Regions from separate parts of the Homo sapiens genome. Here region 1 is linked to region 2. The links are contacts of gene promoters, found by promoter capture Hi-C in human tissues and cell types (Jung and others, 2019). All regions are on one chromosome and are shown on one strand. Each heading gives the region's core, a stretch centred on a gene start or on the middle of the fragment in contact. The rest is flanking DNA. Distances are from core to core; before and after follow the strand shown. Region 1 overlaps IL6R (interleukin 6 receptor). Region 2 holds the start of TDRD10 (tudor domain containing 10).

Evidence for each region. Contacts are between HindIII fragments. The study calls those that stand out against the background at their distance.
Region 1: a contact is called between a fragment that was not itself captured here and the fragment with the promoter of TDRD10 in region 2, in 1 of the 25 tissues and cell types used here (pancreas).

Annotation. Positions count from the first base shown.
Region 1 is chr1:154,437,502-154,440,201 of GRCh38, reverse strand. The region is part of intron 6 of IL6R (interleukin 6 receptor); the gene reads right to left. Among named protein-coding and RNA genes, the nearest start is that of IL6R-AS1, 32 kb to the right of the region's middle. The HindIII fragment of the contact is 3,775 bases long and covers 1-2,700 here.
Region 2 is chr1:154,500,794-154,503,493 of GRCh38, reverse strand. It overlaps TDRD10 (tudor domain containing 10), which reads right to left and starts at 1,275. Exons shown (of 13, transcript NM_182499.4): 1 at 465-1,275. It overlaps SHE (Src homology 2 domain containing E), which reads left to right and starts at 1,082. Exons shown (of 6, transcript NM_001010846.3): 1 at 1,082-2,058. The coding sequence starts at 1,468. The HindIII fragment of the contact is 3,684 bases long and covers 1-2,700 here.

The DNA of each region.
Region 1 (2,700 bases), core at 161-2,660, 63 kb after region 2:
TTGAGGACATTATGCTAAGTGAAATAAGTCAGTCACCAAAGGACAAATACTCTCTGATTCCACTTATTTGAAGTACCTAGAGTGCAGCCTGGGCAACATGGTGAAACCTTGTCTCTACAAAAAATACAAAAATTAGCCAGGCATGGTGGCAGGCGCCTGTAATCTCAGCTACTCAGGAGGCTAAGGCTGGAGAATTGCTTGAACCCGGGAGGCAGAGGTTGCAGTGAGCCAAGGTCACGACAGTGCACTCCAGCCTGGGTGGGTGACAGAGTGAGACTCCGTCTCAAAAAAAAAGAGAAAAAGAGAGAGACAGAAAGAGACAAAGGAAGGCAGGCAGGCAGGTAGGCAGGCATGCAAGCAAGCAAGCAAGCAAATGAAGTACTAGAGTAGTCAAACTCACAGAAAAAGCAAGTAGACTGGTGGTTGCCACGAGCTGGGGGAAGGAGTGGGTGAAAGGAAAGTTACTGTTTAACAGATTCTGAGTTTCAGTTTTACAAGATGAAAAAAGTCCTGGAGAAGTAAAGTGGTGATGGTTGCACAACAATACTTAATGCCACAGAGCTGTGCACTTAAAAATAATATAAATGGGCAGGGCGCGGTGGCTCACGCCTGTAATCCCAGCACTTTGGGAGGCTGAGGTGGGTGAATCACCTGAGGTCAGGGGTTCAAGACCAGCCTGACCAATATGGTGAAACCCCATCTCCACTAAAAATATAAAAATTAGCCAGTCATGGTGGCAGGTGCCTGTAGTCCCAGCTACTCGGGAGGCTGAGATAGGAGAATTGCTTGAACCCGGGAGGCAGAGGTTGCATTGAGCTGAGATCACGCCACTGCACTCTAGCCTGGGCGACAGAGCGAGACTCCGTCTCAAAAAATAATAATAATAATATAAATGGTAAATCTTATGTACATTTTACAATTTGAAAATTTTTAGAAGAAACTTTATAAAAAAGCAAGATTGCTTTTAAGCTGCTTGTCACAAGCTTTAAGCTGCTTGTGACTATCTGAACTAAGTGGTTGGAATAAAAGGTAAAATAGGGATCAGCCTATATTTGGAATTCCTATTCCTCTGCACGATGTTAGAGCTGATTTTTCCCCCCTTAAAAAGGCCCCCAAAGCCATACTGATGCTCAGCATTCAGATAAATGAGTGTGTTTGGCTCAAAGTATACACAAATCAAAGAAAACCATGGACAGGTCAATACGATCTACCCTGAAGGATGCACTGATTTATTAAAATGGTCTCCCTAAGTAAGATATAGTAGTTAGGCCCCACTCCTTGTCCAGGTCTGAGCAGGAAAAAAGCTTTTGAGGAGAGGGCCCAATAGAAAGCTGCCTCCTGTCCTTGATGAACAAGGAAAGTGCCAACAAAGATGGAAGCCGGCACTTCATATTATTGCATCCAACTAGGATTACACCCTAAGCCCCAGCATACTCCTCTGGCTCTCCCCAGGACAGGAAAGACAAGGGACAAGGACCCCACAGTACAAAGCCAGCCAGGAGGAAGAGCCATCACCCCACACCATCCAATCTGGGGGAAGAATGTGCAGCCCATAGATAAAAGCCTTCTCTCCCTGGGGCCAGGGCTGGGAGAAAGTGGCAGGGGTCGGGATGGGACTGATGTCAATTCTACCTTTTCCTTTTTATCCATACTTACTCAAATAAATGGGTATCTTATTCTTTTTTTTTTCCTAACTGCCAAGTATTTAAGAATGATTAATTTGGTTCAACTACGCCACAGGGCTAGAAACATTTGACCCCAAAGTGAGCCATGAAGCCATTCTACAACAAAAACACTGGGAACAATAAAACAGATTGCTGCAAGGGGTAGTAAGCTCTCTGTCTCTGGAAGCATTTAAGCAGAGGCTGGCTGACCACTCTCTGGGTTGTGGTCAGGGAGATTCTTGCATTCTAGATCTGCTAAATCCTAACCTTTCATAGCAGGGTGTTGATAGATAATGTCTCAAGTGGTTTTATCAGGGAAAAAAAAAAGCCATATAAGCTTGTTGTTTAGAGTTAAGGAGGGCACCAACAGAGGAACTAGAAACAGAAAGAGTCAAGCAGCTTCCTTAGAAAGCAGGACTAGAAATGGAAGGCATGGGACAAGGGACCACTGCTCAGTGTTATAAGCTGTTTATTACTTCTTTGCCATGTGCATGTATTAATTTGATTAAAATTTTAAAAGTTTAGGCCAGGCGCGGTGGCTCACACCTGTAATCCCAGCATTTTGGGAGGGCGAGGCGGGTGGATCACGAGGTCAGGAGTTCAAGACCAGCCTGGCCAACACAGTGAAACCCCGTCTCTACTAAAAAAAAAAAAAAATTAGCCGGGCGTGGTGGTGTGCACCTGTAGTCCCAGCTACTCAGGAGGCTGAGGCAGGAGAATAGCGTGAACCCAAGAGGCAGAGCTTGCAGTGAGCCAATATCATGCCACTGCACTCCAGCCTGGGCAACAGAGCGAGATTCCGTCTAAAAAAAAAAATTTAAAGTTTAGTCAGGTGCAGTGGCTCACACCAGTAATCCCAGCACTTTGGGAGTCTGAGGCTGGTGGATCACTTGAGGCCAGGAGTTCGAGACCAGCCTGGGCAGCATGGTGAAACCCTGTCTCTACAAAACATTTTTAAAAAATTAGCATTGTGGCACACGCCTGTGGTCCCAGCTACTTAGGAGGCTGAGGCGGGAGGATTGCTTGAACCCAGGAG
Region 2 (2,700 bases), core at 26-2,525:
GCCTCAGCCTCCTGAGTAGCTGCAACCATAGGCGCGCACCACCACGCCCGGCTAATTTTTGTATTTTTAGTAGAGACCAGGTTTCACCATGTTGGCCAGGCTGGTCTCGAACTCTTGATCTCAGGTGATCTGCCCGCCTCGGCCTCCCAAAGTGCTGGGATTACAGTCGTGAGCCACCGCGCCCGGCCTCAGAAAGCTTTTAAAGGGCTTCGAAGGGAGGGAGGAATGGCAGAGGCGTCTTTTCCCTTAAAGTGGCCACAGTTCTGCACACGGCACTCCCCGCCCGCACAAATCCAGACTAGGAGGGCCGCTCCCAACCGGCGCGAGCGAGCGACGGCCCCGCGGGAACAGCGACCCCTTTCCCCCATCAGTCGGGACGAGGGCGTTTCCCATGGCTGCCTGCCGACGCCCCTCCCTCCCAACCCTCGCCTGGCATCCCGGGACCTGGGGCCGACAAGCCATACCTCGTCTCGCGGGCCACGCGCGTGCACCTGCGATCGCGACGCCCAGCCTTCGCGCCTTCTCCCTCCGCGCTCCGCCCCCTCTGAGCCCGGGGGCACGGGGCGGGGCTTGCCGGCAGCCAATCCCCGGCGGCCACGGCGGGAAGAGCCTCGCGCTGCCCAGGACCGTGTGCCACCGAAGAGTAACGGAACTAGCGCAGGAGCTGGCGACCGTTGTCCCTGCGCCCGGACCTCGGGCCGCAACCTCTGCCCTACCGCCAAAAATAACGTCTGCAGAAAGAGTGGAGTAGAGCGGAGTGGGTGGGCGAGGGGCTTCCTTCCCGGGGGTGAGCGGCGCACGTGACACTCCTGGGCGCGTGTGAAGGCAGCGCCCGGCCGAGACCGGCTCGGTGCAGACGCGGGCTGTCGGCGGCAGAAGGGGGCTCTCTGCTCAGTGGGGCGCGGCCGATCCGCACGTGCGGCCGCCGCCCCTTTCTCCAGAGCTCGCAGCCCGACCCGCCTCTGCCATGGCGCTCACCCCGCCGCCCCCAGCTCTGGGCAGGAGGTGGCGGGGCTGGGAGGCGCCAGCCGCGGAGGGGAGGGGCGCGCGGAGTTGATGGGCCGCTCGCCGTCCGTCCACCGTCTGTCGCTGCGCCGGGGATACTCCCGCCGCCTCCGCTCGGTCCTCTCTGGTCCCTGGGAGCGTGGGCTGGGCCGCAGGGGGCTTCCGTGGGCCTGGCCTCTCCCACCGCAGGAGGAAAGAGCAGGGGGAAGCCCCCGGCGCCCGCCGCCTCCGAGAGCCACGGTGTCCTCGGGCCGGGCAGGCGTTGAAGACGAGCCCGGGCGGGGCCCCCCGCGCGTCGTGCCTGTCGCCTGCCGTGTCCGGAGCAGAGGCTAGCGCCCGCCCGCTCGGCGCCCCGAGCCGTGAGAACCCCACCCTGCCGGGCGTGGGCGACGGCCGGCCGGGGGCGCACGGAGCAGCCGTCGCGGGGCCTCGCCGCGGCCTCCAGCGCCCCAGTCACGGGGAATGCAGTGGTCCCCGACCCCTGGCGCCTCTGCGTGTCTGGGCTGGGCTTCCTCGCTCGCCTGCTCCACGGCCCCGACGCTCCTGGGCCGAGCCGGCCGGGGCCCCCTCATGGCGGCCAAGTGGTTCAAGGAGTTCCCCCTGAACCTGAAGACCGTGTCGGAGCGGGCCAAGCCCGGGGGCGGCGGCGGCAAATTGCGCAAGAACTCGGAGGCGGGCGGCGCTGGGCCGGGTCCTGGCAAGGGCCGCAAGAACTCGGCGGCCGAGCTGGGGAGCGGCAGGGCCGGCGTCGGCCCCAAGGACAGCCGGCTGTCCCGCGACAGCCTGCAGGGTCTGATTCAGGCCGCCGCGGGCAAGGGCCGCAAAAACTCCCGGGCCACGGAGGAGGAGCCCCACCGGGGTGCAACCAAGAGCTCGGGCTGCAGCACCTACATCAACAGGCTCATCAAGGTGGACACTCAGGAGAAGAACGGGAAGAGCAACTACCCCAGCAGCAGTAGCTCCAGCTCCAGCTCCTCTTCCTCCGCGTCCTCTTCCCCTTCCTCCCTGGGGCCCGAGCTGGACAAGGGCAAGATTATTAAGCAGCAAGAGACGGTAAGAATACAGCCTCCCTTGGACCACCTCTCAGTCGAAGGGGAGCCCTGGGCGCCTGCTAAGCCCTAGGCTTCTTTAGACCTAAGAGGCAGTGAGGATAGGTTTCCTAAGGTCCTTTCTCCCTCCACCATTTGGGAATTCCTGACCATTTAAAATTCTTAGACTGTTTTTTAATTCTTGAAAAACTCTTATTTTAGAGGTGGGGAGTTTTGCAGAAATGTACTAGCCATTGAATTTTGTTAGCAGTTTAGAAGAGTCGTTGAATGAGATATTCCTGTTTGGTTACATTTGACCCCTTTATAGATGTGGTTCATTTTAATTTTGATATTCAGGGGAATTGCAAAGCTAGGCTTGTGTATGACTTTTATGCTTCTTGAGCATAAGGAATGGTAACCTCTCAAGTGTGTAGATATGCATTTCAAAGCTTCAGGAAATGGTTTAACCAACAGTCTTCTCCACTGATTTGGAAGTTCCATCATTTTCTGCGGTTCCACCGAGTAAAGGGCTCCTCGGAGGTTCAGCAAATCTCCAAGACTGCTGCCCTTTCATTCATTCCATGGGCATTTGTTGCGCAGCAGCCATATGAGGAAAGGAGCACAGGGCATTAAGGGCTGTGGAGGATACAGAATATGACAAGGAAAT